2 separate regions of the Homo sapiens genome follow, and region 1 is linked to region 2. The links are contacts of gene promoters, found by promoter capture Hi-C in blood cells and fetal thymus (Javierre and others, 2016). All regions are on one chromosome and are shown on one strand. The core of a region is centred on a gene start or on the middle of the fragment in contact, and the rest is flanking DNA. Distances in the headings are between cores, read along the strand shown.

Evidence for each region. Contacts are between HindIII fragments. The CHiCAGO score rates a contact against its expected background, and 5 or more counts as called.
Region 1: a fragment that was not itself captured here is called in contact with the fragment with the promoter of SIK1 in region 2 in 2 of 17 cell types (naive B cells and total B cells); the score reaches 7.1 in naive B cells.

Annotation. Positions count from the first base shown.
Region 1 is chr21:43,307,289-43,314,533 of GRCh38, reverse strand. LOC124905026 (a long non-coding RNA gene) reads left to right here and starts at 392. Exons shown (of 2, transcript XR_007067887.1): 1 at 392-570; 2 at 2,657-3,489. RefSeq lists enhancers at 1-583, 2,499-2,999, 3,000-3,500, 5,603-6,108, 6,825-6,924 and 1 more. The HindIII fragment of the contact is 2,119 bases long and covers 3,665-5,783 here.
Region 2 is chr21:43,425,881-43,433,270 of GRCh38, reverse strand. SIK1 (salt inducible kinase 1) reads left to right here and starts at 6,140. Exons shown (of 14, transcript NM_173354.5): 1 at 6,140-6,261; 2 at 7,079-7,248. The coding sequence starts at 7,093. It overlaps LOC124905029 (a long non-coding RNA gene), which reads right to left and starts at 3,687. Exons shown (of 3, transcript XR_007067891.1): 1 at 1-3,687. RefSeq lists a silencer at 2,248-2,542. The HindIII fragment of the contact is 3,848 bases long and covers 3,983-7,390 here.

The sequences.
Region 1 (7,245 bases), core at 3,475-5,974, 120 kb after region 2:
AAAGAGATTTCCTGCCAACAATAAGAAATTGCACAAAGAAGAGTATTACAGGAGGACACAAAAGCCAGAAGGATTTGCTATCCTGCCACACTCTCAAAGTCCACACCAATCAAGACCACCAGCTTCTGTGGCTGTCTTGTTTTTGGAATGTTCTAGAAGCCTCAGACACCAGGAGAAGGAAGACCTAACTTGAGGCCCCAGAAGCCTTCTTGTTCCCTCCGGGGTCTGTAAGAATCTCCGGGCCCAGCAGGGCCTCCCCACTCTGGGGCCGTCAGGGTCTGCGGATTCTGGCTCCCAGAAGCCCCCGTGCCCTGAGGCCACCAGGCCAGGGTTCCTGGAGGGGGGTGCCTTCACCACCCCTGATGTTGCAGGAGCCCAGGGGAGGTGCACGTTGGCAGGAAGGGCCATGTCTTCCACCGCAGTGTGTAGAGAGAAGGGACTGTGGCTTTCTGGCTGTCTCCGTAACTGCAAAGTCCCCAGAGCCTTCCTCTGTCCCAGGGTCACACCAGCTTTGAAGCTCCACCCAATACGAGTCTCCCCAGCCACAATGTGGGACTCAGAATGGAACTGGTAAGTCCCAAGAAGATAACAGGGGAAGTTCAGAGGGGCTGGGACCACTGAGTCCAGAGAAGGGCAAGGAAAACCCAGACGGGGTCACTGTGGGGCAAAGGGTCCCGGCGGAACAGGCTCCAAGGGCGTGCATGTGAGCACCCTCCCTGGGCAGCAGGTGAGCCGGACCACGGCCTGGGTGGAGAGAGGCCTCCAATCTGGCCTCCAGGATAACTGTAGTTCTCCAGCTCTGTGAGATGATCAACAAGAACGGACCCCCGCCTGTCTCCTAGGAGGGTTGCCTCGAAGGGGGACACGCTCCTCACAGAGAAGCACAGGACCCTCTGAACTCCCCTGGAAGAATTTAACCCTCTCTGCCGGGGATATCTTTACCATCAGCCCCGACACTCAGGCCCTGGCTCATGCCGCTCACATTTGGGGCTGGAAAATTCCTTCTGGCAGGGGCTGTCCTGTGCACTGCAGAATGCTGAATGGTGCCCCTCCCCTCCTAAGTGTGGCAACCCAGACTGTGTGCAGACCTCACCGGAAGTCCCCGGGTCTAGACCACCCCTGGTTGAGAACCACTGATACTGCGGGTCTGGCTGGGAAAATGTGTAAACCTCCCCAGGTTCCCCTCCACATCCCAGGCTGCACGTTTAAGGACGCAGGTTCACAGGTGAAGGATTTTGTGCAACCCTGACTTCGGTGAATCAGGAGGAGGTGCTGGGGGCGGGGGTGGGCACTGGGGTGGGGGGTGGGGCAGCAGGGTTTATTCTCAGGACAAATGGAGAGCAGACCAAAGGGCCCAGGAAGGAGATGGCTACACCAGAAAACCCTGAGTTCACAGAAGGCCCAGGAAGGAGATGGCTACACCAGAAAACCCTGAGTTCACAGAAGGCCCAGGAAGGAGATGGCTACACCAGAAAACCCTGAGTTCGCAGAAGCAATCTGGCTAACACAGAATATTTGCATAGACCCGTTTGCCTATGACTGACCTAGCTTTGGGTCACTCACATGCAAATCTGTGGGGCCCCATGGGGAAGGGAGAAGCCCTTTGCTGGGAATGCTGGGGGTGGGGGAGTTGAGTGGGAGCCAGAAAAGCATAGCTGTTCCTGGACCCGCCTGTTACGGAGGGAGGAGGGCACCTGCCCCACCTACTGGGTGCCTGTCCCCACACCTGCTACTGCCCTGTGGTTTCCTCACCTGGCCAGCGCGCCTGTGTGTGTGTGTTTATGGAGTGGGGCGGCCAACTAAAATAATAGATGAGTGAGTTACCATAAAGTGGAAAAATGTTGGCATTAATAAAGAATTTTGCACTGTTAGAAATAAGAGATTTAATTTATATATATATATATAGACAGAGAGAGAGAGAGAAAGAGATGATCTCTCTACTTATGATATAAGAGCAGCAAGCAGACAGGAAGCCCAGCTCCAGAGTGGTGTTGGGGGGTCAAGGTGCCCCTCAAGGGCTCTGGGCCCGTCCTTAGCATGGGAGGGTGTGGGTGTGGCCGGTCCTCCACTGGGAGACAGTTTATGCACAGACCTCCTCATTGCCATGGAATAGCTCCAGCTACTTATTTTGATAATAGGTCATTCCAGGCATGGTATAAAATCTCAGAGGGCAGGCCATGATCTCTTCCTTACCTCTGTTTCCAGCAGTAATGGTTTAAATGGTGAGAAAAAAAGTTTTGCCTGTGGAATGTGAGTGCTTTTAATTATCAGGCGCAGAGAGACCTTAAAATGAGACAGTGGTCACACCCTGCTCCCTGCTTTGAGCTGTGTGTTCATGTCTGGAAACTGCTTCCTGTTGCCACAAGTAGCTACGGATTAACCCAGTAATGCCCCACTGGACACCGTAACCCACACCCTATATCTTAACAACATACAGCCAATCACTCATCAATGCTATTTCTGTAAACTAATGAGAATTCCTGATAGAAAACTTGGTATCAGCCGACTCCCTGACCCCCACTTTCCTTTACAAGCCACGTGAACTGCTGCTCATCAGAGTGTAGATCCAGGGCAAATGGAATCTATTGCAATCCTCAAGCTTGGCCCAAATAAACTCTCCACTTAGATTAATTTTGCCTCCGCTTCTTTCTTTTAGGGAGACAATAGTGAGCCCCTAAAAGATGCATCCACCCAGAACCTATAAATGTGACTGAATTTGGAAAAAAGATCTGTGCAGATGTCATTAAGGACCTTCTGGTGAGGTCATCCTGAATTGGAGCGGGCCCGGATCCAATGACAGTGTTCTTAGAAGAGAGGGGGAGAAGATACACACAGGGAGGAGTCATGTGAAGATGGAGGCAGAGGCCACCTGGAGCCACCAGGAGCTGGAATAAGCAACGGGTTCTCCCTGGGAGGCCTCAGAGGAGGCGTGGTGCAGCTGCCACTGTGACTTTGGACTTCTGGCCCCAGCACTGTGAGAGGATAGGTTTTAAGCCAGGCGGTTTGTGGTGCTTGGTTATGGCAGCCCCAGGCACTCACGCACCTCTCCAGAGGTGCTGCTGCCCAGGGAGTGTTCTGCATGCTGCACCTGGCTTCCTGCTTTAAGCAGTAATTTGTGCATTGCTGCACATAAAGCCACCTCCCGCTTTTTAACAGCTGCCTGACACGAATCCCACTGTCTGGGTGTAGCATGATTTATTTCTCCAGACTCTTATCTGGGCATGTTGGAGCAGTTTCCAGCTTTTGACAACTTGCAGGTAAAGCTGTGTCAGTAGACTTGTGCATATGTTATTTAGCACTTGTGTGCACCTATCTGCAGAGCTGCTGGGTGTGTGCACTCTACGTTTCTATACCTATTTCAAAGAAGGCATCACAAGTTGCTCACACCAGTAATCGGTTAGGAGCCTCTCTCCTACTCCTCACTGACAGAGGGTTCTCATGCTTTTGTCTTTGGCTGTCGGATAGATTAAAAACAGTCTTACATTCTGATTTTAACTTGCATTCTTTCTTTTTTCCCATTAGTGTGTGTATCTTTCCATATGTTTAACAGCCTTCACATTTCTGTTTTGTGAACTGTTTTTGTACTTCGCCCATTTTCTATCACTTTGTTGGTCTTCATTGCATTGATTTCTAGAACTTCTTTATGTATGAACCAAATGAAGCTTTTCCTGTGCCTTGCATTGCAGATACTATTTCATTTCTCACCTGTCTTTGTTTATGGTGGTTGTGTTTTTCACCAGGCAAACATTTTTAACTTTATTATTATTTCTTTTAATCCATGTTTATGGCTTCTGAGTTTGTGTTCTATTTCAGAAGATCTTCTCCTTCTAAAACTAGTAAAGGAAATGGCTCTCTGTTTTCTTCTAGTATGTTTATGGTTTCCAACTTTATAAAAATATCTGCTGTAGCTGTAACATATGGAGGCCTTAGGGAATAAAGTAGAAATGCAATTTTATTTTTTTCTAGAAAACTATTTAGTTGTAATTCAGTTGGTGTCTTCTGAACAACTGGAATTCATCACACTGATAGGCAAAAATCACCTCTCCTATGTCCTAACTAGGTGGGTGTGTTTGGATCCATTTTTGGTTCCTCTGCCTAATTTCTTTGCTGTCCGACTAGGGGGTCCATGTCCCAACTACTGCAATTTTATAGGCTCTATGAATGTGAAGACCTATTTTAAGATATTTCCTAATATCAAACCATCTTCAAGTCTCCTAGGTCATGGCTTACAGTTTTTAGACAATTTAATTCACATTTTTGTGTTGGTGTTCATTCATAAGATTGGCTTATGATTTTCTTTCTGTGCTTGTCTCTTTGGGTTTTGGCATCATTCTTATGGTAGCTTCATAAAGAGAATTTAGAAATTTTCTTTCCTTATTTATGCTTTGCATCCATTTAAATATTATCTGTTCCTTAACAGTGTGGTGGAATGGCCTGTGAAACTATCCGGGCCTGGAGCCATTTGTAGCTTTGTTGTTGTATCAGTTACAGTCCTAGGCATCTATAGCTATGATCAGTGGTATAGCAGGTGTGTAGTGTAATAGGAGGGAACAAGACAATCAGGGAGTGTGATGCCTGTAAAGAATCTAAAAATGATAGTAAAACCAACTATTATTACCACATCTTGCCAATTCTAAACAGTCAGCAAGAGAATACACACCCTTTTAAGAGGACCGACCGCTGGCATATCATGGAAACACACCCTCCTTCCTCCCTAGCAAGGTGGCACAACTCCTGACCCTCTGCCAGTGCGCAGCGCCCGGTTTTGTGGCTGGATTTGCATGCAATTACATTATATTCAAATCACACTAATTTATTCCCCCAGAATGAGAAGATAGAGAATGAGTGTTTTTCATCAAAATTAGTTCTGTGACACTATTAAAAAAAATATAACGGAAACTCCCAAAGAAACCCTAAACCTTCAAAAACTTGTGAAGTATGGCAGCTCCTCAAAACAGTTAAACATCGAATTACCACGTGATCCAGCAATTTCTTCTCTGGGTATATACCCAAAAGAATTGAAAGCAGAGATTCAAAGAGATATTTGTACACCCATGTTCACAGCAGGTTTATTCACAGCAGCCGACAGATGGAAGCCACTCAAGGGCCCATGGACAGAGGCGTGAGCAGGCAAAAGATGGTCTATGCATGCCAAATAGGATCTGGCCTCAGAAAGCAAGGACATCGTGACACACGCCACAGCAAGGACCAACCTTGACAACATGATGCCGAGTGACATCCTGACACACGCCACAACATGGACAGACCTTGAGAACATGATGCTGAGTGACATCCTGACACACACCACAGCAAGGACCGACCTTGAGAACATGATGCTGAGTGAAATAAGCCAGGTACACAGGGACTGACACCGGGTGGTTCCACCTGTATGAGGTCCCTGGCGGAGTCTGGTTCGTAGAGACCGGAGGTGGAACGGTGAGTGCTGGGGACCGAGGAGGGGCATGGGGAGGGAGTGTTCAATGGGGATGGGGTTTCAGTTTGGGAGGATGGAACGTTCTGGGGATGCGTGGTGGTGATGACTGACAACAATGTGGATATGCTTCATGCCACTGAACCGTGCACCTAAAAATGGCTGAAATGGCAAATTTTATCTTATGCATATTTTACCACAGGAAAATAAATAAATAAATAAAACAAAAAGTTCTTTAACTTGTTGAAAGTAGACAGAAAAGTGTTAGAAAAAACTAAACAGAAAAAAAAAAGGAGAGAAGAGATAAGTAAAGTAAAACACCAGCTGCCTGGATCTGCGGCCTGGCCAAGCTTCTCACTTGGAGGCAATCCCTGCAGGCCTCCCTGCCCCTCCCATCCACTCGCCCTCCAAGGAGACCCAGCCAGAGGGGGTCTGGAAAAGCCTCTGGCTTTGCTCACCCGGCCTATGTGACCCACAGTAATTCTGGGTAGGTTTTTCCTTCACCAGGGCAGCACCAAGCTCACACCCTCTTTACCGACCTTTTCCACCAACACAATCTCATCAGATGCTTAATCCTGGTCTTATTTCACAGACGCATGAGTTTCATTCCAGGGTCTCTGGGGTTACTTTGCCCATGAGAAGCCCTGAGAAACGGGGTGCTTTCTGTGTGGGGCATAAGTGTCCCCTGTGGCAAGAGGCCTGGCTGTCCTGGGCGGGGGTCCTTCCGGGCTGGGGTGCCATCCTTCCAGCACATCCTCCTCCTCTACACTCCCTGGGAGGGCCCAGGCTGTCCCCGCCCCATAGGCCTGGCTCCCACTAGCAGGGAAGGCCTCATCTTATCCGCAAAGGGTGGGCCTGGATCAGCAGGAAGCCCACCGTCTCCTCCTGCCTGGCACCCTCCAGAATAAGAGACAAATTACTGACAGAGGTTGCAAGCTGCTCAAAAAATTCACTCTAGAAAAGCAGGGGCTCCGTTCCCCAATCAAAGCCCTGGGGCGGATGTCCATGTTTCTAGAACCTGTAAGGTCATTCTGTGGTGTTAGCCCATGGTGAAAGAGAGTCTAGCTGGGAGGTGTAGAAAGTCTGATACGTGTGTTTCCTTTGTAGGATTTCCTTCCGTCTGGAGGAGGGAGGGGTGATCAGCAGGCACTTAGGGATGATCTCAGCGGTGACGGCTTCGTATTCCAGGGGGCTTCCAGGGGGCTGGTGTTCCTCCGCACTCTGGCCTGTCCAACTCTGAGTCCCAAATTTGGGGCTGGCAGACAGGGTCACCATGGTCGGGGGCTCCTCATTTTTGCCATGGCTGGGTGGGCAAGAGATGTCCACAGGGCTGGGGTGGACAGAGCAGCCATCCTGTGGGTCAGGTTAGACCCCAGGTCCCATTGGTCAGGGACACCCCCTCCTTAGCCCCTTATCCCTTCCTCAACTAAGACATGAGCAGCGTGTGCTCCAGGTGGGGAATTCCCATGCCAGCTGTGTGGGCAGGACGCAGCTGCCAGTGTCACTGTGGCCGGCACCCTTCCCTATTCTCACGCCATTTGCATTCTTGAGTACAGCCAGTTCAGTTTCTGGTCCTGCCCCACCCTGGCAGCCACGATACCCTTGGGCCCTGTGGTATCAGGAGAACCAGCTCCGAGGTGGGTGAGGCTCTGTCTGAGACAGCGAGTCCCAGGGATCCCCAGGGAAGTTACAGGCTTAGGAGAACACTGGGGAGCCGCTGGCCCCAGACACTTGGTGGGGCTGCCCCACCCGCAGCCAGGCTCGGAAAACCTCTCTGTGGTCTCCTGTGTGGAGAGGAGGCGGGGAGCTGGTTA
Region 2 (7,390 bases), core at 4,891-7,390:
TTGGCTCCCTACTCTCTTGTTTTTACTTTTTTTCTTTCTTTTTTTTTTTTTTTGAGACGGAGTCTCGCTCTGTTGCCCAGGCTGGAGTGCAGTGGGCAATCTGGGTTCACTGCAACCTCTGCCTCCCGGGTTCACTCCATTCTCCTGCCTCAGCCTCCCGAGTAGCTAGGACCACAGGCGCCCGCCACCACGCCCGGCTAATTTTTTGTATTTTTAGTGGAGATGGGGTTTCACCGTATGAGCCAGGATGGTCTCGATCTCCTGACCTCGTGATCCTTGGCCTCCCAAAGTGCTGGGATTACAGGTGTGAGCCACCGCGCCCTTGGTTCCCGACTCTCTGTAGCTCCCAGACCCTGCATGGCAGCCACACCCGTGGGTCCCAGGAGGTGTGTGGGGCCCTCTGCTTAAAGATCCCTCTCAGTGGCTCTGCCTGTGGCCTCCAGAGACCCCTCCTCCTCAGGCGGTGCTGGCCCACGGGCACCAGGCCGGGCATCCAGTCTCGACTCCGGTGGCTCTCAGACAGCCAGGCTGTCTTAAAACAAGGCTCCTGAAATGTGGAGAAATGGCTCATCGAGTGCCAAATGTCGGCATAGGGCCGGGGACCACGAGAGGCTGGGGATGGATGAGCCAGGTCAGGTGGGGCCACAGTCTCATGCTGAGCTGTGGTGTCTGTTTCCACGGGGCCTTGAATGGCATGAAAAGGGCCCCCGATGCTGCCGCGCCCCCGATGCCGCCGCGCCCCCGATGCCGCCGCACGGAGCTGTCCAGTCGGGATGCTGAACATTGCCACAGTGGAATTCTAGGCAGACAACTTCAGCTTACGGTTCTGCTTGCCATTTGGTGACCTGGCAAGACACTTCCTAGATAAGGCTGGAAAAGGCAGGACGCCTCATCCTGTTTTAATAAAAAGTGAATAAGAAAACGTCAGCTATGAAGAGCATTTCCGGTGCTTTTTGTTTTCATCTTTACATACTTACTTTCTTGATTTTCTATGGAACCTTTTCTATTAATTTTTATACTTCGAAGAAACCTGCTTTATAAGAGAAGGCCCGGCAGTGGAGGGAGCATTTCATCGTTTTCCCATAGATGCAGCTGAGATGGAGGGAGACCCATCCGGAAGCCGTGGAGAGAGCGTCTCCTCAGCCCGCCCTGAGACGGGGGTCCTCCTCTCTCCCCCATGGTCCGGGCTTGGCTTCTCTGGGCTGTGAGATGCACAAGTGAAACGCTTCAATCTCCAAGGCCAGAGACCTTCCACCCACAGGCCTCACGCTCCTTCCTGCCACCCGCTTCCCATCGCAGCTCCTTGCTCCTCAGCTTGGCTCCAACAGCCCCAAGTCCCTGCCTCCCTTTCCCTGTCATCCTCGCCTGGCCGTGTCAGGCCGTGAAGCCGGGACAGACCACACTGCTCTGTGCACACCCCGGGCAGGCAGGCGCTGGGCAGCAGGTTGCAGATGGATGTGGACGGCGCCAAGGACCCCCACTGGGTCTGTCTTCCCAATCGTGGCCTCTGCTCTTCTTCCCCTCTGCTGAGAGCCTCTGCTCAGCATTCAGAGAGGGAAGGTGTGGGTGGCTGCCTCCTGCCCCATGCCCCCCGCCGGGGCTCCACCTCTTCTCTCTCCTGGAGCAGTTGGTGTTCTCAGGGAAGGTCCTCGCTCAGTCCACGCCTGGCAAATCCCACGGAGAGGCCCGGAAGCAGTTCCCTCCATGGCCACTTTCCTGCCAGCATTCTTTTCTTACTCATCATCTTATGCTGTTACTGTCTCCGCAACTGGAACCAACGGTCCTCGAGAGAAGGTGTCTTGTGTCCCTCCTACTGTGCCCACAACCTTCACGCAGTGCCTGACACACAGCAGGGCCTCTCGAGCCTTTGTGGACATCTGGAGGATGACTCCGAACTCACCCTCGCGTTGCACCGTCTCACCTCTCTCTGGGGACCTGTCCCTTCCCACAGTGAACTTCGAAGCATGTCTGTCTGTCACCATGTTCTGGCACAGTCTGGCCATGCTCACCTGTGTCCACCCGCTGACTCATTGCAGCTGGCACACTTGTTGCAAATGGCAGAAACTCACATTATTTTGCATAAGTAAATAGTAACCAAAAAAAAAAAAGATGGTTTACCATGCTCTACACTAGCAGCCAGCATGTCACCTGGAAACACCGAGACCTGAGCTGACACTCAGACGTCTCCATCTCCCGGGAGCCACGCTCCGTGTGGCCCTGGCAGAGTGCCCAGGATAAAGAGCACGGCCAGCACCTGCTCCAGTCCTGGTCCCCAGTGTCTGCACAAAGCTGCAGCATCCCAGAGGCTTCTGCTCTGCCTCTGGGGACCTTTGCTCCGTTTGCGGATGCGGTTTCCTTCTTCCTACAGAGAGGCAGGTGGTTTACTCCAGCGCTGCCTGCTCAGCACAGGGTGACCTCCTGCCAGGCTGTCCATGGTGCTCTTCCTAAGTGAGCACTCCCCCCCGGGGGAACCCCTGGCTCTGTTTGGGGCCTGGCTGACTCTCGCTGGGGCTGGCCCCTTCCTGCACCCCCCTCCCCCGCCGTCCGACCTCAGCATATGGCTCAGGGACACAGACACCCAAAGGCCTCTTGGGTCCTCAGCCTTGATATCGGCCACAGCCCTGCTTAAATGTCAAGAAAACGCATTGGCCACATGAATAATTCCTCACTAACGGCAGCGACAGAAACCGGAACCAGAAACCCTAGAGGGCTGGAGCGGGGAGGGCCGACTGGCCCGTGAACAGGCACGTTTCTGCTGCTTTGCCGGCCTTCGTGGTCCATTTAAGCAGCCCGTGGAAGGCCTAGCCTGAAAGTGGGTGCTGTCTGAGATGGGGAGGGGCCCTGGGCCCGGTAGGATCCACACAACTGTGGCAGCCACGGAACCACAGGGAGCCAAGTGTAGGAGGTGAAGGAAGCAATGCCCTGGGGGCGGACGCTGGGACTGGGCAGTCTCTGGTTTGACCTGTTCGCGGGGGATTCTTGACTTAACCTGTGGACAACTGGGCCATTCCCTGAGGGTGGAGGGGGCTGGGGGCTTTTCTCCTACCTGCCCTCTTCCCAGGCCAGGGCCGTGGCTTCCTGACCTAGTGCACACATGTCTGTCTGTCAAGCTCTCCAGATACAATGGGGCAAAATGACCAACGTGGCCCCCGGGTCCCTGAGAAGGATGCCGCTGCAGTGGTTAATCTGATTTTCTGGCACCTAAAGCCGCTAGGCTGAAGCCTAAACAAACCAAAACAAAATTTAAAAAGTACAAAACCACCTGAAGCAAAGCCAGGAAGACAGGGAAGGGCCTTAGGCGTCGAAGATGGGAGGGTAGGGTCGGGAAGAGGAACTCGTCTGACTCCTGGCTGCACTGGGAGATTCCTTCCTCACAGAGGGCGGCACTGGGGCCAGCTGGGCACCCATCCCTTTGCAAAAATGCTGCCCCACGCTCCATTCTCTGTGTTTATCAATTGATTTTGAGAGTTTTGTGACATGCCAGTGGCCAGCGTTACAACTATGAATAATAAATGGACCCATTTCCTGTTGGGGTTTCCAGTCTTAAGGCCTAAAAAACAAGATGAACTCCAGAAACACGGCAATCATAAGACAAGCTGAAGAAAGTCCATGTGGAAAGGAAAACTGACTTGCCGTTTTCCACAAATCTGTAATAATATGCAAACCATAATAATAAAGTACCGTTCCTGCAGACTTTGGGAGCATTCCTTCCATTATGTTCAGTGAGGAGCTTCTCCAATCATTTGCTTGTACCATCCTTACACTCACACCATGTGTTTTATTTTTCCTCGTGTTAAAGGCACGGAAGACCAGAAAACAGAAAAGAAATCAAAGCTTCTGAGAGGAAATACAGCCTCGGGGGGTCAAGGACACAAACAACAACAAAAGACATTGGGTAACAGAGACCAGGTTGAAGCACAGACTTAGTTATGAGGGTGCCAGGGGTTCCCCCAGTGGGGAGACGGGACAGCCGTTCCAAGCTTGGCCTTTTCCTCTGTGCTTCCTGCCTTTCTCTGCAGAGCGAGCTCCTTGCCCACGGGCCCAGGGAAGGGAAAACAGGATGGCCATGGTTGGCACAGGGCTGTTCTGGGTTTTGGAAGCTCAGGGCTGGGTCAGGGTGAAAGGTCAAGTGCACCTGAGTTTGGGGACCTGTTCTGCGGAGGCAGTTTTGGCTGCAGTTTTTATTTGGTGCTGATGCAATGTTTCCAAACAGCCAGCCAGGTGTTTGCAAATACCTAAGACCTTTTGGAAGACTCTGGCTAGGGTGGGAGGGGTGGGGAAGCCTGCTTCCTGGATGCGGGGGGCAGTATTTCAAGTCACAGGCTGAGGGACTGAATGGTGAGTGTGATCAGGGGCCTGGTTTCTCCCCCACCCCGCCTTTTATCTTTGTTCTTTTTTGAGACAGGGCCTTGTTCTCTTGCTCAGGCTGGAGTGCAGTGGTGCAATGACAGCTCACTGCAGCCTCAACCTCCCAGGCTCACGCCATCCTCCCACCTCAGGCTCCCAAGTAGCCGGCCCCACAGGCGTGTGCCACCACACCTGGCTATTTTAAAAGTATTTTATAGAGGTGAGGTCTTGCTATGTTAACCAAGCCGGTCTCAAACTCCTGAGCTCAACTGATCCTCCTGCCTCAGCCTCCCAAAGCACTGGGATTACAGGCGGGAGACACGACGTCCAGCCTTGTTTTTGTTTAGTTCTCCTAGGAGCGGATTAACAGGGTGTTGGGACCTCCAAAAGGAAAAAAGGCAGTTGTACACTGTTCAGCTGAAAGGAACTAAAAATATTCCCCCGTATTCTTGGTATATAAACCTGGGACAAAGAAAAACACTCTGAACGATTAAGGAAAACTTTGGGACTCTTCATTTCCTTGAAAGCCTTTGAAAACCAACTGACTCCCAAACAACCCGTGTGTGTGTGTGTGTGTGTGTGTGTGTGTGTGTGTGTGTGGCGATTGGGAAATCTGTGGTCAGACCCTCGGGCGAATGAGGAGAAGCTCATCCTCGTTTCTCCGGGCCCTCCTCCCAGGCGTCCGTCCAGGCAGGAAAGCCTCCCGAGAAGGGTTCCAAGTTTTGTGCCAACTCCCCTGAATTCTCGTTCCCCCTTCTGTGAAGTAGTGTTATTTAACACAAGGAAAACTGACCCTAGGCTCGATCCAGAATCTAACTCCCAAATGGGTCCTCAGGCTTAAAAAATACCTTCGCCCACAGCCTCTGTCTCCCCTGAAGAAAACGTTTTCCGTTCGGATGAGGCATCGGCCACGGGCAAGCAAGTGGTCCCGCGCCCCCGTCCCCTACCCAGGCGGCCGGCCTGGCTCCGTCACCGCCCGCAGCGTCCGCCCGGGGCCCGCGCGGGAAGAGGGTCCCAGCCCCACATGCTGCGGGGGCAGCCCCGGGACGCGCAGACGCCAGCGCCGCTGAGGGCCGGGGCCGGGACCGGCCGCGCGGCGGGGGCTTCCAGAGCGGCCGGTCACGCTTCCTTAGGTTTCAAGTTTCTAACTTGCTGAACATTTCAGATTTTAACAGCAAAAGCGGCTGACGTCCCCGCGGGCAAGCGGCCTCTCGGGGTCTGCAGCGCCCCAGGGCATCCGCGCCGCCAGCCCCACGCGCGAGCCCGCGAGGCCCCCGGGCCCCCGCACGTCCCGAGGCTCTGAGTCTGGACGAACGCAGGCCGCGTGGAGGGGCCGGCGACCCCTGCCCGAGAGCCGTCCCCTCCTGGAGGGAGCGAGCACAAGGCGCCCGCGGGACCCGGCCCGAGTGCCCGAGCGTGGAGGGGCGGGCGCGCCCTCGGCGGTGGGGCCGCCCGCAGTGCCCCCAGCGCCCGGGAGGGGGCGCCCGGCGGAGCGCAGGCGGGCGGGCCTCGGGCGGCGGGCGCCCCTGACGTCACCGGCCCGCGGTCGCCAGGGCAACGGCCTCATCCCGCGCGCGTCAGAGCCGCCAGTCTCTTGGCAACCGCCCGATCTCCCGCTCTCCCTCCGCCCGGCGCTCGGCCGCGCGTCGCTCTGGCGTCAAAGCGACGTCAATGGGCGGCCCCCGCCCGGGCGGCGGGGGCGGGGCAGGGGGCGGGGACTACGGGGGGCGGGCCGGGGCGGGCCGGGGCGGGGCCGGGCGCCGCGTGCGGCGGAGCGCGGCGGCTCCGGGCTGACATGCGGCGCGGCCCCGGAGGCAGCAGCAGCGGCGGCGGCAGCCGGAGCAGTAGGCACCCGAGCAGCGCCAGCGGCCGAGCGGGCGGCTTCCTGGCCTGGGCGCTCCGGTGGCGGCGGAGGTGAGGCGGCGGCAGCGGCGGCAGCGGCGGCAGCGGCGGGCTCCGGGCGGGCGGAGGTGGCCGCCGTGGGGGCTCCGCGCGGGCGCCGGGCCGGGGCTCGGGGTTGCAGCCACCGCGCAGGGTCCCTGGCCTTGCGCGCGCGGGGTTCGCGGGCGGGGTTGGCGGCCTGGCCGCCCTCGGGCTCCCCTTTGTTGGGGGGCCGGGGTAGGAGTGAGTCCGCGGGGCTCAGGGGCTGGGGAGCCGGGGGTCAGGTTGGAGCCGACCGCGGGCGGAGATACCGGGTGTGGGGGGCGGGTCCGCGATCCCCGAGGTGCCTGGGATGTCGGGGGTGGGGACCGGACGGATCGCGGGCGGCGGGGGCAGGGTGTGGGAGCGGGGCAGGGGACGGTCCTGGGATCCGGATCGAGCCGACCTCGGGTGGCAGGGCCAGGTGTGGGAGCGGGTCCGCGCCCAGAGGTGCTAAAGGGGTCGAGGGTGGGGACGGAACCGACAGCGGGCGGCGGGAGGCGAGTGTGGAATCCCGGCTCAGGGGGTCCCGGGATCGGGACGGAACCGGACTCGGGCGGCAGGGGCCTCTATGAGAGCGGGTCCGTGCGCCCCGCGGGGCTCAAGAGGGTCGGGGGTCCGGGTGGAGCGGGCGGCGGGGGCGGGTCCACACCTCCCACGGGGCTGGAGGGGCCCGTGGATAGAGTGGGGGCGACAGGCGTGGGAGCAGGTCCCTGCGTCCCGTGGGGACTGGGGGCTCCGCGGGCACGGATGGAGCCGACCGCGGGCGGCGGGGGCGCTGGTGGGCTCTGAGCTCTGTGCGGCCCCGCAGGTGCGCGCGGAGCCATGGTTATCATGTCGGAGTTCAGCGCGGACCCCGCGGGCCAGGGTCAGGGCCAGCAGAAGCCCCTCCGGGTGGGTTTTTACGACATCGAGCGGACCCTGGGCAAAGGCAACTTCGCGGTGGTGAAGCTGGCGCGGCATCGAGTCACCAAAACGCAGGTGCGTGGGGGCGGTGGGACCCAGCCGGCGGGGCCTCCCCACTGGACCCGGGGCGACCCGACCTTTGGCGGGTGGACCCCATGCAGATTCACTGCTCCAGGCTTGATTGTCGTGGTGGGTAAATAGTAACCGTTTTTAGTTC